Linked DNA regions of Homo sapiens: region 2 is linked to region 1. The links are contacts of gene promoters, found by promoter capture Hi-C in human tissues and cell types (Jung and others, 2019). All regions are on one chromosome and are shown on one strand. Each heading gives the region's core, a stretch centred on a gene start or on the middle of the fragment in contact. The rest is flanking DNA. Distances are from core to core; before and after follow the strand shown. Region 1 holds the start of PDCD5 (programmed cell death 5). Region 2 has its middle 37 kb from the start of ZNF536-AS1.

Region 1 (6,302 bases), core at 2,159-4,658:
CCATGTGACTAATCTATATCATTTTCTTAGAGATAAAGCTGAGATCCAGGAGGCTATGCTAAAGAGACATAGGTAACTGTGGCCAAGCTACAGCCAGATTCCATGTTTTAAGACTCTCAGTTCTATTTTTCTGGGTGGGGAAGGGGAATGAAATTATAACTTTGCAACTATCCTCACTTCTTCCTACCTACCCAAATAGAAAGTAGTTCACGTTCACAGGACAGTGGTCTCATGGACTTGTTTCTTTTTTCTTTCAAATGAAATCCTTTAAGAAATCTAAAAACAAATGAGCACAGATGCTTTGGCTCAACTGAGAGGGAGAGCTGGGGCTGGCTGTGCCCACTATCCACTCCCAGCTCAGAGGCCCTTCGGTTCATGGAATGTGGCTTAAAGCTCATTTCCATAGGCCACTTCTTTATGGTTTGAGTACTGCAGCCCTGCCACAAACTTTAAGAGATGGGGTCTAGGCCAGGCATGGTGGCTCATGCCTGTAATCTCAGCACTTTGGGAGGCTGAGGTGGGTGGATCACTTGAGGTCAGGAGTTTGAGACCAGCCTGGCCAACATGGTGAAACCCCATCTCTACTAAAAATACAAAAATTAGCCGGGCATGGTGGCGGGTGCCTGTAATCCCAGCTACTTGGGAGGCAGAGGCAGGAGAATCGCTTGAAGCTCAGAGGCAGAGGTTACGGTGAGCCAAGATTGTGCCACTGCACTCCAGCCTGGGTGATGGAGTGAGACTTCATCTCAACAACAATAAAAAAAGATGGGGTCTCACTCTGCTGTTCATGCTGGAGTACAGTGGTGCAATCACAGCTCACTGCAGCTATGATCAGCTCAAGCTCCTGTGCTCAAGTGATTCTTCCCCCTCGGCCTCCTGAGTAGCTGGGTCTACAGGCTTCAGTCACCACACCTGGCCTGCCACAAACTATTATATCACAGAACCCTAAGATGCCATCAATTCTAAGATACACCATAGTTTTACGTATCTCTAAAAATGAAAAACCCTAAAATGAGAGGTCTAATAGAGATCTCCATTCAAAACTGGGGTTTCTCGGGAGGCCAAGGTGGGAGGATCACTTGAAGCCAGGAGTTTGAGACCAGCCTGGGTGATATAGCGAGGCTATTAAAAAAAAAAAAAGTTTAAAAAAATTAGCCAGGCATGGTGGTGCACGCCTGTCATCTCAGCTCCTCAGGAGGCTGAGGTGGGAGGATCACTTGAGCCCAGCAGGAGTTTGAGGCTGCAGTGAGTTCTGATCCCACCACTGGGGTATCAAAGAGCAACATTCTCAGTACAAAGTAAAGAATAAATAAATATGCCATGCAGTAAGGGGCAGTACAAAAGCTTGCATGCACCTGGCCCTGACGTAAAGAAGAAAAAAGTTCAGTCTTACAGGGTTGCTGTCTGAATTCACACTACTAGGCAGGAGGCAGGGGAAAACCTCAAGCAGAGAATTTAACTTTCAATGGTCTCAGAAATGTACTCAAGTGATAGCAGAGTCAAAAGTAAATCCCCTCTGGAAGAATCTGGGGCAAGAGCAATCTGTTTTAAAAGGCATCCTGATTTCAGATATGTGACAATGAAAAGATGTACACGGCAGAAATCAATGAAATTTGCGTCGTTTTACTTCCTATCACTACTCCAGATACTTCTCACCGTCTGTCTTCTCCCGAACCCTCCCTTCCTATTTCTGTAGACCCAGCACAGTGCCTGACCCAGAGCAGGTGCTCTATAAATATTTGCTGGAGAGGAGGAGTAAGAAGGTGAGGAAGGGGAAATAGAGAATTGTCCAGTAGCTAAAGGTTTCAGTCTTGCAAGATGAAAACATTCTAGAGTGTGAACACTACTGAAGAGCACACTTAAAAATGGTTGTGATGGTGAAATTTTATTTAACCACAATTTTTAAAAAATGATAGCATGATAGGGTAATCACATACTCATTCAATAAACCTGCCACCGAATCAATTACCTGCATCTGTCTCAGGTGCTGTGCGCTGTGTTGGGATAAAACAATCAGAATAGCTTACCAGTTAACACTTATTGAGCACTTACTAAGTGAGGCACCGGACTCACGTCACCCCCACAGCCGAGGAAACTGCCACAGCTGCCTATTATCAGGCTCATTTTTAAGGTACTCACATTGTAGCAGAGAAACATCAACCAGTAATTGCAATACAAGGTCTGATGTGGAGCTGCACACGTGTTTATTTAACAATAATGAAGATACCCTGCGGATGATTTTGGCCAAATCACCATTCCAGCAAAACAAAAAAATCTGAGTCACACACCTGCTTAAAATAACTACAGCAAAAGAAATCCATTTGGTGAAACCACCCTTCAAAAAGTTCACGTTTCCAGCCCATACCTGTGCTTTGCTTCCTGTTGGGCCGCATCACCAGGATCCTGGAAAAAAAAAACTTAAATTTAATAGAGAAATTTCACGGGAGGCGGCGGGAAAAAGGAACGGTTCTGTTGTTTCCTATACATAACAGTCTCTTGCGGTGGTAGAAACAACTCCCCAAATAAGAAACTGGGCCTCACAGAAATCAATGAACTAGTTCCCACTTACAACGTTTTGATGAACGTCTAAAACCACAACCTCAGAAGGCTTTGGAATACAGAGCACCCTGGGGAGGGGAATCCCTGTATTACGAAACCGTGTTTCACATGTAGGAATAATTTCTGGAAAATAAAACGGGCCTCGGTATTAGGGACAACGATAACTCAAAGACTGCGCCCTCCGTCCCTAAGGTCCCGGTCCCTTATCAGAAACGCCTCTCCGGGCGTGTGATCCATCCAAGCTTCCCAGGCGGCCCCTCCCTGTCATCCCGGCGGGGCAAGCGTTCCTCCGACCCTGCCGCGCTCTCAGCACCGGGAACACAGCGGACCCTCAATACCTGTCGGCTAAACTTGGGTCATAACAACTGAACTCCGGAAAAACTGAATTCGGTCCGGCTGCTGGCTCCAAAAGCTGAGATTGTGCTTGGATCCAGGCCCGCCAGGACGAGCCCGCTCCAGGCTAGGGGACCCCACACCCCAACGCCAGGGCAGGTCCCGCACGTGGCGGCCCCCGCCGCCAGCCTCCTGGGCCCCTCGCGACGAGGAAAGCGACGAGGCCACCTCTGAGCCGGCCACGAGGCCGCCAGGGCAGCGCAGGGGACCGGGGCCCCGGGGAGGCGCCCAGAGCCTCCGCCCCGGAGGCGCGCCCTACACTCCGGGCGAGGGCGGCGCCCCGCGAGGGCCAAGCCTGGCGGGGGCTGATGCGCTCACCCCGTGTTTGGCCTGCAGCTCGGCCAGCCTCTGTCTCCTCAGCGCCTCAAGCTCCTCGTCCGCCATGGCTCGGCGTCAGCGCTGGAGCAGCCGCGGTCACTCTCGCAGCCCCTCGGCGCGAGCGCGGCCTTGACCACTGCGCAGGCGCTCGCGGGGCCCAGGCGCCACCAATCCAGCCCGGAGCCACGCCCCGCGCCGCTGCCAGGGCGCCGGCAGAGGCCCGATTCCCCGATTTCAGGCGGTCGAGCTTGGGCGCACGGAGGGGCGGGGCCTGGGGCGGGGCCTCCGGGATCCACCTCCCACCCGTGATCGGCGCCTCTGCGTGCAGGGACTTGGGCTGCGCTGGGGCGGGGCTGCGCTTTGGAAAGGTTAAAACCTGAAAGTGTGGCATCAACAAGTATAATAATTATGGGTGCAATGTGCTGGTGACCTAGAGGGTTAGGCGTATATTATCTCTATTTATAGATGAGGAACCAGGGGCGCAGGAAGGCTGAGTGGGGTGATGGAAATGTCCTAAAGCTGGATCGTGGCGGTGGCTGCCCGGCTCCTCGGTGCACACAGAGGCCGGCCGGTGGCTCGCCGCCTGTGGTCCCGACGCTTCGGGAGGCGGTAGGGTCATTTGAGGTCAGGAGTTAGAGACCAGCCTGGGCAATATGGCAAGAGCCTATCTCTACTAAAATTTTAAAAAACTAGTTGGGCGCGGTGATGTGCACCTGTAGTCCCAGCTACTCAGGAGGCTGTGTCAGGAGGATCGCTGGAGCCCGGAAGTTCGAGGCTGCAGTGAGCCTTGATCTCGCCACTGCACTCCAGCCTGGGAGACACAGCCAGACCCTGTCTCTAAAAAAAAAAAAAAAAAAAAAAAAAGTGCACATCTGCCTCCTCGCCATCTGCCTCCTCCACGCACAAAAGGGCTTTTCCTGGGAGGATACTGCAGTGGGCAGCTGTGGCTGGTGTAAACTCTTTGGTGGAACAAATCCCTTCTGCCTTTGACTTGGGGGAATTGGGGGCAGAGAGGATATTCAGCTACCTAAACGTGTGACTCATACAGATTCTGTTTGTTTGTCTGTGTGTGTGTTATTTTATTTTTTACATTAAAAAAATACAGATGGGGTCTCGCTATGTTGCCTAGGCTGGCCTCTATCTCCTGAGCTCAAGCAATCCTTTTGCCTCAGCCTCCCAAACTGCTAACATTACAGGCATGAGCCACCACACCTGGCCTGTGTGTTTTAATTGTGGCAAAATATACACAATACAAAATTTACCATTTTCACCATTTTTAGGTGTACTTTTCAGTGGTATGAAATGCATTATCGTGCAGTTGTCACTCAATCTCAGCTCACTGCAACCTCCACCTCCCGGGTTCAAGCGATTCTCCTGCATCAGTCTCCCAAGTAGCTGGGACCACAGGCGTGCACCACTGTGCCCGGCTAATTTTGTATTTTTTAGTAGAGATGGGGTTTCACCATGTTGGTCAAGCTGGTCTCGAACTTCTGACCTAAAGTGATCCACCTGCCTTGGTCTCCCAAAGTGCTGGGATTACAGGCATGAACCACCTTGTCCACCATCAATCTCTACAACTTTTTTTTTTTATCATCCTGAACTGGAACTCTACCCAGTAAAGATTTAGGTTGGTGTGAGGGGCCTCTAATGGGAATGGGTGGGGGTGGGAGGGGTCTGAGAATAATAATCAGTCTCCACCCATTCTCATTCTAGTTTCTATGAATTTGCCTATTCTGGGTATCTTGTATATGTGGAATCATACAATATTTGTCCTTTTGTGACTGGCTTACTCCACCTAGCATATGTCTTAAAGGTTCATTCATGTTGTAGCATGTGGCAGAATTTCTTTCCCTCTTTAGACTGAATATATTCCATTGTATGGATATACCTAGCACATTTTGTTTATCCATTCATCTGACAATGGACACTTAGGTTGCATCCACCTTTTGGCTATTATTAATAATGCAGCTATGAACATGGGTGTAGAAATATCTGTTCAGGTCTGTGCTTTCACTTTTGGATATATACCCAGAAGAGAAATTGTTGGATAATGTGATAATTCTGTGTTGAGGAATGGCCATACCATTTTCCACAGCAACTGCACTATTTTACATTCCAACCAACAGTGAATGAAGGTTCCAATTTCACCGTCTCCTCACCAATATTTGTTGTGTTCTGTTTTTTTGTTTGTTTGTTTTTTGATTGTTTTTGATAGTAACCATCCTAACGGGTATGAGGTGAGGTGTTGTGGTTTTGATATGCATTTCTCTAACGATTAGTGATGTTGAGCATCTTTTCATGTGCTTGTTGGCCATTTGTATATCTTCTTTAGAGAAATGTCTACTCTAGGCCAGGTGCGATGGCTTACTCCTGTAATCCCAGCACTTTGGGAGGCTGAGGAGGGCAGATCACTAGGTCAAGAGATTGAGACTATCCTGGCCAACATGGCGAAACCCTGTCTCTACTAAAAATACAAAAATTAGCTGGGCGTGGTGGCACGCACCTGTAGTCCCAGCTACTCAGGAGGCTGAGGCAGGAGAATCACTTGAACCCGGGAGCCGGAAGTTGCAGTGAGCCAAGATCGCGCCACTGGACTCCAGCCTGGTGACAGAGCGAGACTCTGTCTCAAGAAAAAAAAGAAAAGAAAAGAAAAGAAAAGAAAAATGTCTCTTCTAGCCCTTTGCCCATTTTAAAATTTGCTTTTCTTTTTTTGTTGTTGCGTTGTAGTAGTTCTTTACATATTTTAGATAATCCCTTATCAAAGTATATGATTTGCAACTATTTTCTCCCATTCCATGGGATTTACATTCTGTTGATTGTGTCCTTCAATGCACAAAATATTTTAATTTTCATAAAGTCCAACTTACCTATTTTTTCTTTTGTTGCCTTTGCTTTTGGTGTCATACCCAAGAAATAACTGCCAAATCTAACGTTATGAAGCTATTCTCCTGTTTCCTTCTAGAAGTTCTATAGTTTTAGCTCATTATGTTCAGGTCTGTGGTCCATTTTGAGTTAATATGGCATTAGGTAAG
Region 2 (6,302 bases), core at 2,165-4,664, 1.9 Mb after region 1:
GTATGATCAATATTATTATTACTTTGCAAAAATCAAATAGTGAGAGTGAGAAAAGCAGCCGATACATCAGGCACATAAGCTAAGATTTAGAAGATCTTCCCATCCCTGAATATTTTTGTTGTTGTTTTTAGAGATCAAGTCCCGTTCCTCATCTCAGGCTGGGAGTGCAGTGGTGCGATTATATCTCACTGCAGCCTCAAACTCCTGGGCTCAAGCCATCCTCCCGCCTTAGCCTCCAGAGTAGCTGGGACTACAGGTACACCACAATGCCCAGCAATTTTGTTTGTTTGTTTTAGAGACAGGATCTCGCTATGTTGCCTAGGCTGGTCTCGAGCTCCTGCCTCAAGGGACCCTCTCTTTTCAACCTCTTAAGTAGCTGAGATTACAGGTGCAAGCCACCACACCAGGCTCTAGCTAGAGTTTTGAACCCAGACTTTCTAGGTAATTGAAGATAAGTCTCCCCATATCTGAATTTTTTTCTATAAAGGGTTAAATAATAAATAGTCCCAGATTTGCAGGCAAAGAGGCAAAATCCAAGATACTGTGTAGGTATTTAGAGAACAAGACAGGAAACAAATATTCCTCAACTTTTTATTGATGAAATTCAAAACTTTATTTATGGACACTGAAATTTAAATTTTATATAAATTTCATGTGGGATGAACTACTATTATTCTCATTTGAGTTTTTTTCCTAAACATTAAAAAAATGGAAAAACCATTCCTAGCTCACAGGCTGTATAAAAACAAACAATTGCTGGACACAGTGGCTCACGCCTGGAATCCCAACACTTTGGGAGGCTGAGGCAAGTCAGTCGTTTGAGCCCAGGAGTTTGAGATCAGCCTGGGCAACATGGTGAGACTGTCTGTACAAAAAAAATTTAAAAATTAGCCAGGGACATGCCTGTGGTCCCAGCTACTCAGGAGGCTTAGGCAGGAGGATCACTTGAGCCAGGTGTTTGAGGCTGCAGTGAGCTATGATGGTACCAGTGCACTACAGCCTGGACAACAAGCAAGACCCTTTCACAAACACAAAGAACAAACAAACAAACAAAAAACCAGGCAATAGTTAGATTTTGTCCACGAGCTACACTTTGCTGACCCCAATTCTGCACAAAGACCATAAATCCTTCCATCTGGGAGTCTGACTCAGGCCTCAGGGCAAAGCCAGCTCATGTTCTGATCCTCCCGTTGACTCTTTATTGTTGAGCAAACCAAGAATGGCAAGGGAGCGTGTGTTTGGGGGTGGGGTGAGTGAGGGGTGTCACCTGAGTCTTGCTCTTAGGCAGAGTTGGAAGGGCTGAGCTGGGGGGATTTCTAGAGTCTGAGGGTCTCAGGGGCAGCAGCGAAAGTTGTCGGGACCAGGAGAAAGATGAACAGGTAATCAAGGCCAGCATGAGTTTTAAAGAAGGTAGATTTTGAATAGTGACTCTTGAAATGAAACCTTCCTAGAAAGACTGTAATTTGGAACAGGAGGTGGATTCCTGTGGACGTTCACCTAATCCTCCAAGCGCAACATCTCTACCCTGATGCGTCACAGCCATGCACAGACTCTACCATCTCGAGGAACTGGTAAAACATCTGGCTGGGGAAGTTATTCTGAAGCAATGGCATCTCCCCTGCTTCCGGGAAGCTGTTGATGAGCCGTTCCTGGAAGCTCTCATGTGCTGTTTCACCCAGCACTCAGAGAGGTCAGGGCCCAGAGCTGGGTTTCATTTGCTCAAAAAAATAAACAAGTAAATAAATGGAGAGCCCCATCACTGGCTCCAGAGAACAAGCAAACACATATTCAGCACTTTTTCTAAAGCAGTAATAGCAGTCCTGCGTCTATTTAGCAAAACAGTCTTGTTCCTGAGAAACAGGAATCCAATGCAACGTTGGAAGCAGAAGCTCACTTTCCCACTGAATTGCACCCAGTGCTAAATTCTTGCTTCTTGTTGGGCTTCTGGAGTTCACTGCCTCTTTGTTCCCTCATAACCAACTGGTGTCCAGGACTAATCCATTCTACCTGTTGAATCTTTTCCTTTGCAATGCTGACTTCAGAACCAGGTCCAGTGTGTACCAATTATTGTCTAGACTATGAACATGGCAGCCCGCGGGTGGCCTTCATGCTTCCAGTTTCCCACCGCCAGCCTGTCCTCCCCAGGGACAACAGAGCGAGTGCCTAAAGCAGAAGCTCAGCCTGTGATTTATTTGCCCCAGATCTTTCATGGCCACTGGCCTCCAAAGGAATAATCAGGACTTTCATGGCTCAATCCTAAAACACCCTTCCATTCCACGCTACAGCACAACCCCTTTTGCCCACACCAAACCAAACCTCAGATGGTCTCTGCACATAGACGTCACTGTGCAGTGTCTCCATACCCTTGCTTGTCTACCCTCTCTCTGAAATGCCACTTCATTCTCTGCAGGCTCAAACCCACTTCTCTATTCAGGCTTTGATCAGCAGGATGCCTGCTTTGTGGGCCTGAGTGTATGTACTGGTCCTCCCAAAAAGGCCGTGAATTCCTGGGGCAAGAACCATGACCATCTCAGTGTTATGAATGCCAAGCCCAGTGCCTGGCACAAAGCAGGTAGTCAGGAATTATTAATTATATTCTTGTATCACCTTGCCTTTTTCTAAGGAATTATACATTTTTGGATTTTCTTTTTTTTTTTTTTTTGATGGAGTCTCACTCTGTTACCCAGGCTGCAATGCAGTGGCATGATCTCAGCTTACTGCAACCTCTGCCTCCTGGGTTCAAGTGATTCTCCCGCCTTAGACTCCCCGAGTAGCTGGAATTACAGGCATAAGCCACCATGCCCAGCTAATTTTTGTATTTTTAGTAGAGATGGGGTTTCTCCATGTTGGCCAGGCTGGTCTCAAACTCCTGACCTCAGGTGATCCACCCACTTTGGCCTCCCAAAGTGCTGGGATTACAGACGTGAGCCACCATGCCCTGCCAGGAATTACACATTTTTGGATAGTGCTTCTGCTTCTTCTGTTTCTACTGTTGTCCCTAAGACAAGGCTAAATTTCATCAACCTTCCCACTTCAAGAAGACAATGTGCAAATCTACAGACTTCGGAGTTAAGAACAAAATAAAGTACAAGAACAGTGCACTTGCTGTTGGCCCTTCCTGACAGCCAACCACAGGAGGAAGAGCACAGCTAGCACGAGGGGCCAGTGCCATGATTGCCAGGTAAGAGAAGGAGTCCCCAGGGTGACTGCCCATTTGCTGTCTTGCCACCCTTTTCACCTTAAGGGCTTGGTCACCTAGGGAAGGCCCTGGGTTGGGAGGCGAAGGACAACTGGGACATATTTCCAATGCAAATTTTCGATTATACAAAAAAATGCAAATGGTCCCTGTTCTTCATGACCTGGGAGTTAGGGCATAGACTGAAGGATGGAATTAGGATGCCAATCAGAGGCAATGGGATGGGCAAAGCCACACCCATTCTCCGTACCTTAATGGTGAATCTAAGTCAGGACTAAGCTGGGCATGAGTGAGTTCCAAGTAGATCGTCCTGGCCAAGCATCTTAGAGACAACACAGAGCCCCCAAGATTCAGCCATCCAATTTTTTAAGTTATCATCCCTGTGGGCCCGAAGCTATGCCCAGGACTCACTGAGAGAGAGTTCGAGCTACTCTGAAATGGACACTATTAAGCAAGAAAAAGGCGGGCCCAATTTGTAGCTGGAGGCCTACAAGCCAATTGAAGGTCATCCCAAACAACATAAAGAAGGAGCAAGACACCGGGAAACCTGAGAAATGTTTCGAGGCTTTGGCCAAAGCTTCTCTGAAATGGACTGTATTTTCTATGTTTCTACCAAGGGCAGCTCTGTAGCAGTTCATGGACAAAGGCTGGCCACTGTCCTAATTACCATGGCTCAGATAAAGCTAGGGCTAAGTCATTCATTTATTCATTATATGGCAATAATTTATTGATGGAGAATGTCACTATCGTATGACAAGTCTTTCGAGTAAAGAACTCCAAATAGTAAGTAAAAATAAAAAATAAAACCAAAACCCTTGGTACCATGATCCAAATAGGCCAGCAGCACTATGAAACAAAGCGACCAAACCTCACTATTGTTTATAAATCTGCCTCGGTTTACCAGGATGACACTAGTTCTTCCATTCTTCAGTTGTTTTTGTTCATCAGCAAAACTGTCTATTGTATTTTCTTTCTTTTTTTTTTTTTTTGAGACAGAGTTTCACTCATTGCACAGGCTGCAGTGCAGTGGTGTGATCTCGGCTCACTACAAGCTCTGCCTCCCGGGTTCACACCTTTCTCCTGCCTCAGCCTCCTGAGTAGCTGGGACTACACGCACCCGCCACCACGACCGGCTAACTTTTTGTATTTTTTTTAGTAGAGACGGGGTTTCACCGTGTTAGCCAGGATGGTCTCAATCTCCTGACCTCGTGATCCACCCGCCTCAGCATCCCAAAGTGCTGGGATTACAGGCGTGAGCCACCGCGCCCAGCCAACTGTCTATTGTACTTTCGATTGTCACATTACTGAGTAATAATTTCACGTATGAATCCTATGCTACATGGAAGCCACCCTCCCTACAAATGATACTGCCACAGGAGTGATGCAACGTGCCTCTTGGCAAACTAAAATGTGGACCTCAGATATCACCTTTATTTGCAATGAAAGCCTTTTTGATTTGGCCAACTTGGTATAAAAGCACTTAGTACCTTTTTTCCACCAATCGATTTTAAAATATTAATCATGATTTTATCCTATGGTTATATTTTGAATCTCTGTTTCTTGGTAATAGCCAAATGTATAATAATAATTCTGGCAGATTTGGATACTTCACTGGTCAAAACATTAGTATTGAATTGGTTTCATTTTCACTTAGGTGAGATGGAAATCTATATGTAAATCCATCTAAAGCTATGCACATATCCATTTGTAGAAAGAAGTCTATACAATGCTAGAATCATAATAAATCCTGATCTTGCAGTGTATCTAGTAAGTAGAAGCTTTGTAGATAATACTGATAGTACCTAAAGACCCTGAAGACCTTCATTCCACAGTTTTTCACATACATTTTTGCATGTTTATCCTCATATTTGAGCTTTGGACAATTTTGCCAAGGGATGATATCAGCTCCATTGTACAGATGAGAGAGCTGAGATACAGTGAATCTAGAAGGTTTGGCTTTAAAACAAATTTCCAATGGATATAAAGTACTTAGTCACCCTCATTCTCTAAACTTATTACAAAGACTGTGATTAAAATGTGTTTTTATAGGCTCAAACACACATACACACACACATAATGTGTTAGTTTATACACAATTTACAATGCGTTTTATTCTATATCCATAATATTGTTTATAGACACACACACACACACACACACACACATCTTTCTGAGTTGTTTGCTGAAAGGCTCCCATGAGACTGATGTGGAAGAAAGTTCTATGAAGAAGTGAAAGGCCCACCCTTGGGGAAGTTGACTGGGAGAAGCTATGATAGGCCCGGAATAAGCCATTATATTTTCCCAAGAATCAAATATAACTGAAAGCCTGATCTTTTGATGATGAGAACATTTATTCCCAAACAGAAAGCTGTTGCTATGCACAGTACTGTTGGACATGACACATTTCTGAGTCCAAGTAAATCTGGATAAAAAGTTCCAAATGTCTCTCTACCATTTGTCCCTGTGAAAGCCCCTGATGATAATAAGACTGGGATCTGTTGGCTTTGGGTCAGAGAACATAAGCAAGTGCTCCAGAAAAAAAAAAAAAAAGTGCTGAGCTCTGCTGAATACGTCCCTGTGGATTTCACATATTTCTGACAGCAGAGACCCTCCTGAAGGCAGCAGCAGCAAGAGGGGCCCATGGAACAACACCGCGAGACATTCCTGCTGAGGGGGCTGTGGGTTTGGAAGAAGTCAGATCTCTCTAGATGGAGGTAGGTCATCTCATCCCCAGAGGAGAAGCCGCTGCAGTCCCAGAGGTGACAAGGCAGCCCCTCAGTGGCCTGCTCACTTCCATCTATCTCTTTTTTTTTTTTTTTTTTTTTTTGAGATGGACTCTCACTCTTGTTGCCCAGGCTGGAGTGCAATGGCACGATCTCAGCTCACTGCAACCTCTGCCTCCCGGGTTTAAGCCATTCTCCTGCCTCAGCCTCCCAAGTAGCTGGGATTACAGGTGCCTGCTACCATGCCCGGGTAATTTTTGTATTTTTAATAGAGGTGGGGTTTCACCAGGTTGGTCAGGTTAGTCTCGAACTCCTGACCTCAGGTGATCCGCCCACCTCAGCCTCCCAAAGTGCTGGGATTACTGGCGTGAACCACTGTGCCC

What was found. The method cuts DNA at HindIII sites, captures the fragments that hold promoters and counts their contacts. A contact is called where the count stands out against the background at its distance.
Region 2: a contact is called between a fragment that was not itself captured here and the fragment with the promoter of PDCD5 in region 1, in 1 of the 25 tissues and cell types used here (dorsolateral prefrontal cortex).

Annotation. Positions count from the first base shown.
Region 1 is chr19:32,578,296-32,584,597 of GRCh38, reverse strand. PDCD5 (programmed cell death 5) reads right to left here and starts at 3,408. Exons shown (of 6, transcript NM_004708.4): 1 at 3,271-3,408; 2 at 2,366-2,403. The coding sequence starts at 3,336. RefSeq lists silencers at 3,407-3,583, 2,929-3,658 and an enhancer at 3,869-3,958. The HindIII fragment of the contact is 5,718 bases long and covers 2,074-6,302 here.
Region 2 is chr19:30,704,369-30,710,670 of GRCh38, reverse strand. It overlaps a transcript of ZNF536 not described here. Among named protein-coding and RNA genes, the nearest start is that of ZNF536-AS1, 37 kb to the right of the region's middle. The HindIII fragment of the contact is 5,215 bases long and covers 807-6,021 here.